Linked DNA regions of Homo sapiens: regions 1 and 2 are each linked to region 3. Evidence: promoter capture Hi-C in 16 types of primary human blood cells and fetal thymus (Javierre and others, 2016). All regions are on one chromosome and are shown on one strand. Each heading gives the region's core, a stretch centred on a gene start or on the middle of the fragment in contact. The rest is flanking DNA. Distances are from core to core; before and after follow the strand shown. Region 1 overlaps NUTM1 (NUT midline carcinoma family member 1). Region 2 has its middle 11 kb from the start of GOLGA8A. Region 3 holds the start of AVEN (apoptosis and caspase activation inhibitor).

Region 1 (4,098 bases), core at 1,241-3,740, 310 kb after region 3:
TAACGCGAGTCCTCCCTTTCTAATAATTAATTGAGGATGGCACTGTGATAATTAGGGGTGGTAGTTGCCATTGATTTTAAAAGGTGGGGAGAAGAATTGTCTGTTTGATTTTATATTAGTTGTAAAGTTCAACAGGAAGAGGGGCGAGTATGGTAGATGAATGGATGGGAGGTTGAGCGTCTGTAAGTCTAATCAGAAGTGGGACACGACAGGCCCTAAGGGGCACAATAGATTTGATGAGGGGCAGGGGATGTGTTATTGATGTAGGTGTCAGGGCAGGTGGATGGGAGCACACTTTTAGAATGTGACTGACTCAATGGGGGTTTTAGCCCAGTGCTTCGTTCCCTGGCCCGGCTGAAGCCCACTATGACCCTGGAGGAGGGACTGCCATTGGCTGTGCAGGAGTGGGAGCACACCAGCAACTTTGACCGGATGATCTTTTATGAGATGGCAGAAAGGTGAGTTCGATGAACCTTCATTCTCCTGAGGGAGGCTGTGTGGCTGAGAGCAGTAAGGGCCGCAGAGAGACTTGTGTGGGGGTGATTATCAAAAGCCATGTTAGGATGGGGCGCAGCGGCTCACGCCTGTAATCCCACCACTTTGGGAGGCCAAGGCCGGTGGATCACCTGAGGTCAGGAGTTCGAGAACAGCCTGGCCAACATGGCGAAACCCTGTCTCTACTAAAAAAAAAAAAAATACAAAAATTAGCCGGGCATGGTGGCATGTGCCTGTAGTCCCAGCTACTCAGGAGGCTGAGGCAGGAGAATCGTTTGAACCTGGGAGGTGGAGGTTGCTGTGAGCCAAGATCATGCCTCTGCACTCCAGCATGGGTGACAGAGCAAGACTCCATCTCAAAAAAAAAAAAAAAAAAAAAAAAAAAAAAAAAAAAAGGGATGTTAGGCTGGGTGTGTGCTTGTAGTCCCAGCTACTCTAGAGGCTAAGGTGGGAGGATGGTTTGGGTTCAGTAGTTCAAGACCAGCCTGGACAACATAGCAAGACCTCATCACAAAAAAAAAAAAAAGAAAAGAAAAGAAAAAAAGGGACGGGAGGAGGGGTGTAGACTAGGATGGCAGTTTCCTGGATCCTTGCTTCTTCTTCCACCACCTTGACTCTTGGGTTTTTCTATCCTGTTTCCTCTTGAAAGCTCCCCCCTCACCAGATCCTGAATCTGTATAGGAGCCTTGATATTGTAGGTCTTAGGATGGGATTGGAGATTGGACCCCGATAGATATAGAAATTTCATGCTGAAGGGACCTAGCAATGAGGAGGTGTGCTCTACCAGGCAGGTTCTTTTCTCTTCTCATTGACTTGGTAGCAAGTGGCTATTGATACAGAACTTCAGGACCACTCCTCCATTGGAAATAGTGGCACAGAAAATCCCTTTCCGCCTTTATCCCAGGGAGGGGGCTGGTTCTGGAAGAGCCGGGGAAAGCCAGTGTCCTGGATGCCCAAAGTTGTCTCCTGGCTCTTCTTCTATTTCTCTATAATATCTTTGATTAAAAAAAAAAAAAAAAGGCTAGGCGTGGTGGCTCCGCCTGTAATCCCAGCACTTTGGGAGGCCGAGGCAGGCAGATCACCTGAGGTCGGGAGTTCGAGACCAGCCTGACTAACATGGAGAAACCCCCATCTCTACTAAAAATACAAAATTAGCCAGGCATGGTGGCGCATGCCTGTAATCCCAGCTACTCAGGAGGCTGAGGCAGGAGAATCGCTTGAACCCAGGAGGCAGAGGTTGCGGTGAGCCGAGATTGTGCCATTGCACTCCAGCCTCGGCAACAAGAGCGAAACTCTGTCTCAAAAAAAGAAAGAAAGAAAGAAAAAACTCAGAAAAATGAACAGATTCTTCCAAGCTTAGCTTCCACTTACTCCCTCCCAAAACCTTTTGGACCCATGCTTCCTAGACTTACCTTTCCAAGAATCCCATCCCAGTCTCAGGACTCTGGGATCTCACATTGTTTCCTGGTAGGAACTGCCTTGAATTCTTTGTGGTTGTAGGCAGGGGCAAATGAGGTCTTGAGGAGGATCCCACTGTGAGATCCCACCAGGCTGTTGCATAGGCCTGATTAAGTTAAACAAGCCTATATTGAGCACTGCTGTGTACAATCCATGAAGCTGGGTGAGATAGGTACGGAAAACAAGTGAGGCCGGGCACATTGGCTCACACCTGTAATCCCAGCATTTTGGGAGGGTGAGGCGGGCGGATCATGAAGTCAGGAGATTGAGACCATTCTGGCTAACACGGTGAAACCCCGTCTCTACTAAAAATACAAAAAAAAAAAAAAAAAGCCAGGCGTGGTGGCACGCACCTGTAGTCCCAGCTACTCAGGAGACTGAGGCAGGAGAATCACTTGAACCCGGGAGGCAGAGGTTGCAGTGAGCCGAGATTGGGCCACTGCACTTCATCCTGGGCGACAGAGTGAGACTCTGTCTCAAAAACAAAAACAAGTACTGAAAGCCCTCACTGTGTCCAAGAGAAGTTTACAAGCTCTAGATCATTCTTAACTTTTTTTTTTTTTTTTTTTTTTTTTTGAGACAAAGTCTCACACTGTTGCCTGGGCTGGAGTGCAATGGCACGATCTCGGCTCACTGCAACCTCTGCCTCCTGGGTTCAAGTGATTCTCCTGCCTAAGCCTCCCGAGTAGCTGGGATTACAGGCACCCACCACCACATCAGGCTAATTTTGTGCATTTTTAGTAGAGACGGGGTTTCACTATGTTGGCCAGGCTGGTCTCGAACTCCTGACCTCATGATCCGCCCGCCTCAGCCTCCCAAAGTGCTGGGGTTACAGGCGTGAGCCACTGCGCCTGGCCTCATTCTTTACTTTTTAAAAATTTTCTTGAGGCAGGATCTCACTCTGTTGCCCAGGCTGGAGTGCAGTGGCACTGTCATGGCTCACTGCAGCCTTCACCTCTTGAGCTCAAGCGATCCTCCCACCTCAGCCCCACAATAGCTGTGACTAGACGCGCGTCATCACTCTTGGCTAATTTTTTTGGTATCTTTTGTAGAGATGGGTTTTTGCCGTGTTACCCAGGTTGGTCTCAAACTCTTGGGCTCAAGCAATCTGCCCACCTCAGCCTCCCAAAGTGTTGGGTTTATAGGCATGAGCCACCCCACCTGGCCATTCATTTTCTTAAGCTTCCTAAGTTATGACTATAGGGGAAGGAACTATGTGCTGAGCTCCTGAAGTTTCCCTGGAAATACGATTAAGCCACCTGTGACCACCCTCCTGGGTGACATGACTTAGGCAGACTTTGCCCACCTGAGAGCACTTCCTTTCTTGGCCATGCTTGGCTGTCGTCTGGATTTCTGATGGGTCTGGTCTCCTTCTCAGCATTGCCTATGCCTTTCTCACCCTCTGCAGGTTCATGGAGTTTGAGGCTGAGGAGATGCAGATTCAGAACACACAGCTGATGAATGGGTCTCAGGGCCTGTCTCCTGCAACCCCTTTGAAACTTGATCCTCTAGGGCCCCTGGCCTCTGAGGTTTGCCAGCAGCCAGGTGAGGCTACCCAATTTTGACAGGAGCCGTGGGCCAAAGGCTCAAAGGGATGCATACAGAAGCCAGTCACAGATTAGAGAAGGCATAGCCCAGGCTCTGCCACTTTCCCTCTGGAGAGTGGCATTTGATATTCCAAACAGACCACCCCATAGGAGGCTGGGTTCTCAGGTTCCTTTTGCCCTGAACTAGGTATTGATCTTGGTGAAGTAAACTGACTACTCTCACCGAGACTCTAAATTCAGCACATAATACCTCATCTGCCTAAGAAATGGGGACTGGATTAGGGGGTTTCTTGGAATCTCAGGGATTCCAAAATTCCTCATACAGTGATTCTTAGACCCTCTAGGTCCTAAATCTCCCATGGCTGGCGCTTTTTCAGGTTGGCCCAATCCAGCCTGGAACCATTTCAATGTACCCAGATTGCTGAGCTTACAGAGCTGGGAGGCAGAAGCTGTGGTTTCTGTGCTACTTCCCATTCTCCTGTCCATCTCTTACCTTAGTGTACATTCCGAAGGAGGCAGAATCTGTGGTTTCTGTGCTACTTCCCATTCTCCTGTCCATCTCTTCCCTTAGTGTACATTCCGAAGAAGGCAGCCTCCA
Region 2 (3,506 bases), core at 694-3,193, 410 kb after region 3:
ATCTTATAACATATCCACTAAATTGAATGATGAACATTAGACCACTTTTTATTCCATTATAATCTTATTTTCTCTCATAACGCTATCCATTAAAGTATAGATTCTATTGTAAAAGCTTCTAAAAAAGTATCAAATCTTCCTTTGTTCCATTCCAGCTAAGCTGTGTTTCCCACCTGTTCTGTGCTTGCTAAAAATATAATGAGAAAATAAATGACTATCTAAAGTTGTTTTACAAAAGACTGTATCATAGATCCTGTGAAATCCTTCCTGCTTTAAATCCTTTGAGTGGCTGGATATCTTGAAATGGCAAATGAATTGGCCACAGAACAGTGCACACTATTCAAGGTTTGTTCATGGAGTCTTATTTATCACAGTGATCTGTGGGCATGATAACATAATCTATACAGTGTTCATTTTTCTCTTAGGTGGTCTGGGCATTCTTCAACCATTTATTCAAACATTATCTTCTCAATTCCACCTTATAATTTTTATTTCTAAAGCGAAGTGAGCACAGACCAGATACCTGTACCTGGGTAGTGGTTTTCTAGGATACAGTAAAATGCAGGATACATTGAAGAGCAAATGGGTGCAGATGAATTGAAAACTCTTCCCTCTCCACGTCAAAGCCCAGTTGAAGGTTGGCATTTGAACAGAAAACATTCATAGACATGAATGGGGAAAGTTAATGCTCAGAGTTCACAAGTGAAATGAAACCATTCCTACTCACTGCTTCTACAAATCACTTTATAAGTGATCCTGAGGAATTCTTTCTCATCTCTCTCTCTCTCTCACTCTCCCTCCTCCCTCATCTCTTCCCTCTCCTATTCTGGCTGAAACTGGCACCTAAGTCAAATGTAGCTAAGCAAACAGTGTCTCAGTACGAGACAGATATATATGTATGCACAATACACATATATATTTACATGTATATATATATATACACACACACACATATATGTATTATTTTTTCCTAATTCTACCCACAAAAGAGGCACTAATACCTTAAGAGCCATAAGCGAATTTTGTGCCCAGATGGTTTTTAATACCTGTCCCTACTGAAAGGAACAAGAGCCTCTTGGAGAAATGTCTGGTTCCAGGGCTGGGACAAAGAAGGTACATGATGAAACTGGAACACCTTTTTGTGCCAGAAAGAAAGGGAGTGCTCAAGAAAACAATGGGAACATGTCAAAAAGAAATAGGCAATAGCTTGAAGGGGCTCCTGCTGACCAAATCTAGGGACAATTTGTCTATCAAAATAAATGAGGATTGCAACGATTAAATAAAATAGGATGATTAAATAAAGTAGGAAATTATTCATCTATTATAATAAGCAAACAAAGAGATACGCGCATACATAAATGGATAAATAAGCAGAGGAGAAAAGAGAACATTTCTTTATTTTATTTTATTTTTTTGAGACGGAGTCTCGCTGTCGCCCAGGTTGGATGCAGTGGCGCGATCTCGGCTCACTGCAGGCTCCGCCCCCCGGGGTTCACGCCATTCTCCTGCCTCAGCCTCCTGAGTAGCTGGGACTACAGGCGCCCGCCACCTCCCCCGGCTAATTTTTTTGTATTTTTAGTAGAGACGGGGTTTCACCGTGTTAGCCAGGATGGTCTCGATCTCCTGACCTCGTGATCCGCCCGCCTCAGCCTCCCCAAGTGCTGGGATTACAGGCGTGAGCCACCGCGCCCAGCCAAGAGAACATTTCTTTAAATTAGTGTGCCACCTGATACATGTGAAAGGAAGAGTCATGGAGTGGCCGGGTGGAGGGAGGCAGGGCGGGGAATACCATTTGCAACTATGGTGGTAAAAAATAATTTAGGCAAGAAGTATCAGGAGAATACTTATCTTTGGGAAGAGCTGGATGAGAAGCAGGCTGCTTGCGTGTTCTCAAAGTGTCTCTTCACAGACTGCTATTCATTACAAGGAGAAAAGTACTAACTAAACAGTGAAGAATGCAAATGACACTTTGACCTTTTGCTGCAAAGTAACCTCACCAATAAGAGGTATGTAGATGTCTTGTATTTGGGGGATATATGGTACCCCGAGAAGGACACCACATCACTGCTGCATTATTCCACTTGCAGCTGTATAACCAAGTCTAATCATGAGAACACATCAATCAAGCTCAAATGAAGAAACATTCTGTAAAATTACTAGCCTGAATTTTTCAAAACTCCCAATGCCATGATAAAGAAAGGCAGAGAAATGCTGATAGAATAAAGAAGGTGAAAGAGATAGAAAAACTAAATGCAGTATGTGATTCTAGACATGGAATATGGACTACATAGATTAGATGAAAATATTACTTCAGTGTTAAATTTCTTGAATTGTACCATCTTCAGATGCTTATTTGAGGATATTTAATTCAGTCTGGAGAGTTTTATTGCAGTTTATCTTTCTTCCTAGTTGGTTTGGGGGAAGAATTTCTTCAGCTGAAATGTTTTGACTCATATTTTCTGTTTTCTACAGCAGCTTTTATATTGCAGTTTTTGTAGTTATGTTTTTTATTCTGTTCCCAGGTATCATAGAAATGGAGTTCCTAGTTCTAGAGTATCCTTTTCTATAAATAGAGTAAAATGCAGTTTATTTAATAAGAGATGTTGGCACTTTGGGCAGAAAGGGAGTGGTAGGCACGTGGTACTTCTCTTTCATCTGGACATATTCCTTAATTTTACCTTCTTTTTTTCCTTTCTGTGCCATGACTCCTGATCAATCAAATAGACAACTGAAATTATTCACAGATCTGAAATGTTTTATTATTTCTGTTACCAGATTTGTAGCTCTTCAATGCATGTTTAACCTGTGCACATAGTCTAATTTTCACTGCTGGTGTTGACAGAAAAAAATATTTCAAAAATGGAAGCTGAGGGAGGCCGAGGCGGGCGAATCACGAGGTCAGGAGATCGAGACCATCCTGGCTAACACGGTGAAACCCCGTCTCTACTAAAAATACAAAAAAAATTAGCCGGGCGTGATGGTGGGCGCCTGTAGTCCCAGCTACTCGGGAGGCTGAGGCAGGAGAATGGCGTGAACCCGGGAGGCGGAGTTTGCAGTGAGCCGAGATTGCGCCACTGCACTCCCGCCTGGGCCACAGAGCGAGACTCCGTCTCAAAAAAAAAAAAAAAAAAAAAAAAAAATGGAAGCTGAGGATTGTAACATAATGTAGGTATATAATGGCAATGGCACTATTTCTGCTTTTCCTGTGCTTTGGGTCTACCTGAAGAGTAGTGTGCACTTGCTGTGAATGGTAGAGCCCACCTACATTAGGCTGATGATTTATTGTTGAAGTCAAAAAAACTAGTGAAATTTTACTGAGTAGACTCTTGATCAGCAGGGTAGCAGATGTCTCCCAGAATATTTTGCTTCTCAAATTTACAGGGCTTCTACCTTTCATAGAAAACCATCCTCACCTCTGACTCATGTGACTTATCTTCGGGTACTGCCTTCTCTTGGCAGTCTTTGGGACTACCTCAAAGCAGAATTCATCCTACCCTGCTCAGTGT
Region 3 (3,931 bases), core at 134-2,633:
TGCTATGCCCTCAAGATATTGTAAATACTTCAGTAAGAGCAAATTTTGCCTCATGCAAAAAAGAATTTTTTAAATCAGTGTGCATAAGAATGCAGAATATAAAGATGGTCTTGTCCTACAGATGTTAAGGTAACAGAACAACTCATAAAAAGACAGTCCTCTAACTCCTTTAGCTGAGATATGGTTAGCTTTGCCCCCATATATATCATCCCCTGCTCCAATCTCCAAAAACTTCCTTCTATGAATGTGTCAATAAGACTGATGATATTGCTATTAAAACTCAGAACTTGACTGCTCATTTATAAATTGAAAATTCAAAACGACAAAGCCCAGTGCTCGCTGATTTCTACACATACAGGCATAATAAAAGAGAACTACGCTATTACAAAGAACTATGCATCTGGTCCCGCCCCCAAATACTAGAGTCCAGTCGTAGGGGTCATTCTTTCACTCAACAAACTTTTTATTATGCGCCTACTGTGTACTAGGCATTGCACAGACAGTTAACAAAACAGACCAAAAAATCCTTTCCCTCCTAATAACAGGAGCGTGCCCGTAAAGGCTGCCGAGGGACCACGTCGTGGCCGCGCCTCCGTCCCATAGTGGTACTCGTACAGACAGCCCAGCCGGCCCACGGGCCGCCGAGACTTGCAGCCCTGACACACGGCCTTGGCCTCTGGGTTCCTAACCCGGACCCTGGGGCAGGCTGGGAAGCCCTCCTACCCCCACTGTCTCGCGCCAGCCCGGCCAGGAGGCCACGAGGGCCAAGCGCATACCCAGGCGCGCCCCCGCCACCAGGCGCGCCCCCGCGCCACCATCCGCCCGTCCCGCGCAGGCGCCGGCGCCGCCGCCCGTCTGGCGCGCGCCTGGCACGCTCTCTTGCGGCTCTTGACTGGCGGCCTCGGCCCCACTTGCCCCAGTTACACGCGGTCCCAGCCCCACCAGCCGTCGCCTCTTACCGGCGCGCTGGCCCCTGCGCCCCAGCCTCCCGGCTCCCGGCGGCTGCCTCGCGGGGCGCCTCCTCCTCCTCGGCCTCCGCGAGCGCCGCGGAAGCCCCGGCCACGGCCACGGCCCCGGCGTCCGCCTCCGTCCCCGCCGCCGCCTCCGCCGCCGCCTCTGGCTACCGCCGCTGCGGCTCCGGGCCGCTCGCTGTGGCGATCTCCGCCAGGCCGGCCGCGGCCTGGCCGCCGCCCACGGCCTCCCCGAGCTCCTCGCTCCGCCTGCATCTGGCCGCCGCTGGCGGTGCTGAGCGCGCGGGAGCCGAGCTGCGGCGGAGACGCCCTGGCCCCACCGGAAGCGGGCCGCACGGAGGAGCCGCGAGCGAAAGGCGCCCGGTAGCAGCGAGGCGCGGGGTGCGGGGCTAGGGATCGAGGCCGGCCGCAGCGGAGCGGGGCGGGGCGGGGCGGCCGGCGTCCCGCAGGTGGGGCCGGAACCGGGACCGCGGGAAGGCCGGACCGCTGGGAGCTGGAAGTGGTGGGGGTCTGCAGCGGGGCGGGGGGATTCTCAAGGCATCAGAGATAGGTTGGGGGAGAGACCGTGCTAAGTGCAAGGACGAGTCATAAAATAAAATTTGTATGATGTGAACTCTCGGAAAAAAAAAGTTTAAACGTATGTATTTGCATAAGAAAAGGTCTAAACAAATACATACTAAAATGTTAGTGGTTAACTGCTGAGATTTGAAGTGAGTTAATTTTTTTTCCTCCGTTTAATCTAATTTTCAGCAACGAATGTGTATCATTTTAAAACTATACCGAAGTCAGGGTTCAGGAGGTGTGGATGTAAAGACAAGAGTTTGTGTCTGGTGAGAGGTGGACTGCAGCACGTGGGAGAGAGAACAGTGCGAAACTGGGAGATGGCTAGAAAGGGCGTCAAAGTCCTCAGCAGAATTTCTGTAGAAATGACTACTACAGCTGACATTTATTGAGCACATGAGTATTTCATTCTCATAACAGCTCTATGAGGTAGGGATGACTGTCATCCTTATTCTGCAGTGAGGTAACAGCCTTGGAAAGGTTAAAAAAAACTTGACTAAAGTGAATAACTAGGTAGTGGTGGAACTGGCATTCTAAGGCGGTCTCACTCCAGTCCCTTCTTTCAACCAAGGAGAAAACAGGAAGGGGAACAGTTGGTTACACAGATGCATGAAAGCAGTTTTTAACTTGGGACTGAAACCACCTGAAAATAATGAAAGCAAGGGCTAAAATGTCAGCCTAGCAGAATAAGTGTTTTCTTCCCCCTCAGTACTTTCTGGTTCTTTCCTATATCCATACATAGTTAATACTTTTCATTGCTTCTAATTGCCTACTCTGCATCAGGCACAGTGCTATGTCCTGAAATTAAAAACAAAAACAAAAAAAAAACCTTGCCCCTGCCCTCAAGTAGCTCACTGCCCACAAGGAAGATAATCTAGTCGTGTGAATAGATGATTACAGTACCGTGTTGCTGAGTGCAGTGAGAGATTCAAGATCAAGGTCCAAAGAAGAAAAGTTAAATTATATTTAAACGGGTTACCCAAGGCTTCATGAGAAATAGACCCCTGAGCTAAAGCCTAATGGTTGAGTAGGAGTTTGCCTGGTTGGTAAATGGGAGTAGGGGCGCCTTCCAGACAGGGGGAACTATTGAAGGATTGTCAACTCCAGAGAAACAGTCTTAAAAATAGTAACACTTGTAGAGCACTTATATGCACCAAACACTATTCTACATACTTCTCATATCACTTCATTTGGGACTAATAGCTGGCCTACGAGGTAAGCTAGTGTTGTCTCCATTTTACAGATCAGGAATCTAAAACAGATGTTAAGTAACTTCCAAGATTACACAGTTACAGGCCAGGTGTGTGGTTCGTGCCTGTAATCCCAGCATTTTGGGAGGCTGTGGCGGGTGGATTGCCTGAGACATGAGTTCAAGATCAGCCTGGGCAACATGGTGAAACCCCATTTCTACAAAAATTAGCTGGGCATGGTGGTATATGCCTATAGTCCCACTACTTGGGAGGCTAAGATAGAGAATCATTTGAGCCCAGGAGGTTGAGGCTGTAGTGAGCTGTGATTGTACATGGGCAACAGAAGGAGACTGTCTAAAAAAAAAAAAAAGATTTCAACATGAATTTTGAGGGAGATGAACATTTAGACCATAGCAGTGGGGAAGGGGCATGGAAGAATATGGTTAAATATCTACCAGCATATCACTGGTCTGGCCTCTCACCAAGTTGAAGATCCACACATTAATCTCAAACTAGACATTTGCACAAATCGGAGTTTCTCAATGTTGGCAAATTTAGGGCTGGGTAACATTTTGTGGCGGTAGCTTATCCTGTGCATTGTAGAATATTTAATAGCATCCCTGGCCTCTACCCACTAGATGCCAGAATGAACCCCTCTCCCCCTCATTAAGACAACCAAAAACATCTCCAGACATTGCCAAATGTTCCCTGAGAGGCAATCACCCTGGATGAGAACCACTAGCACAGATAGATTGGTGCAAAAGGTACGTTTTAGTATCTAAGGAGCTACCGATGTAATTTATCCAAAAATTTATCCAGCCTTAAATTTGCCAACATTGAGAAACCCTGATTTGGGCAAATGTCTGGTATGAGATTAATATGTACATCTCCAATGTAGTGAGAGACGAGACCAGTGGGAAATAGGGCTTTAAGGAACTATATAACTATCCCTTGAGAAGCCTCCAAAATTATGAGGTTGAAAAGATCAGTGGCTTGCAGATTAAGCCAGTGTTATTAGGGCACATTCACTATGCTTGATACTTTCAACTAGTCAGTGTAAGACTCAGTAACACTTTTGAAAGGTATGCCATTTTAGAGAGAGATTGGTTTGTGGATGATGCCAAGTTTTTTTAACACTTATTTTGCACCTGATACTATTCTAAGCACTTTCCACGTACTAACTCATTAAATCTTCAAAATATCCCTATG

Evidence for each region. Contacts are between HindIII fragments. The CHiCAGO score rates a contact against its expected background, and 5 or more counts as called.
Region 1: a contact is called between a fragment that was not itself captured here and the fragment with the promoter of AVEN in region 3, in 1 of 17 cell types (total B cells). The highest score is 6.3, in total B cells.
Region 2: a contact is called between a fragment that was not itself captured here and the fragment with the promoter of AVEN in region 3, in 1 of 17 cell types (total CD4 T cells). The highest score is 5.5, in total CD4 T cells.

Annotation. Positions count from the first base shown.
Region 1 is chr15:34,350,375-34,354,472 of GRCh38, forward strand. NUTM1 (NUT midline carcinoma family member 1) reads left to right here. Exons shown (of 8, transcript NM_001284292.2): 4 at 330-458; 5 at 3,362-3,498; 6 at 4,072-4,098. Among named protein-coding and RNA genes, the nearest start is that of NUTM1, 9.1 kb to the left of the region's middle. RefSeq lists an enhancer at 3,397-4,098. The HindIII fragment of the contact is 1,285 bases long and covers 1,849-3,133 here.
Region 2 is chr15:34,446,684-34,450,189 of GRCh38, forward strand. No RefSeq gene overlaps it. Among named protein-coding and RNA genes, the nearest start is that of GOLGA8A, 11 kb to the left of the region's middle. The HindIII fragment of the contact is 3,660 bases long and covers 114-3,506 here.
Region 3 is chr15:34,037,821-34,041,751 of GRCh38, forward strand. It overlaps AVEN (apoptosis and caspase activation inhibitor), which reads right to left and starts at 1,384. Exons shown (of 6, transcript NM_020371.3): 1 at 960-1,384. The coding sequence starts at 1,226. The region is part of intron 1 of CHRM5 (cholinergic receptor muscarinic 5); the gene reads left to right. RefSeq lists silencers at 357-416, 767-826, 917-1,126, 1,307-1,476. The HindIII fragment of the contact is 8,272 bases long and covers 1-3,931 here.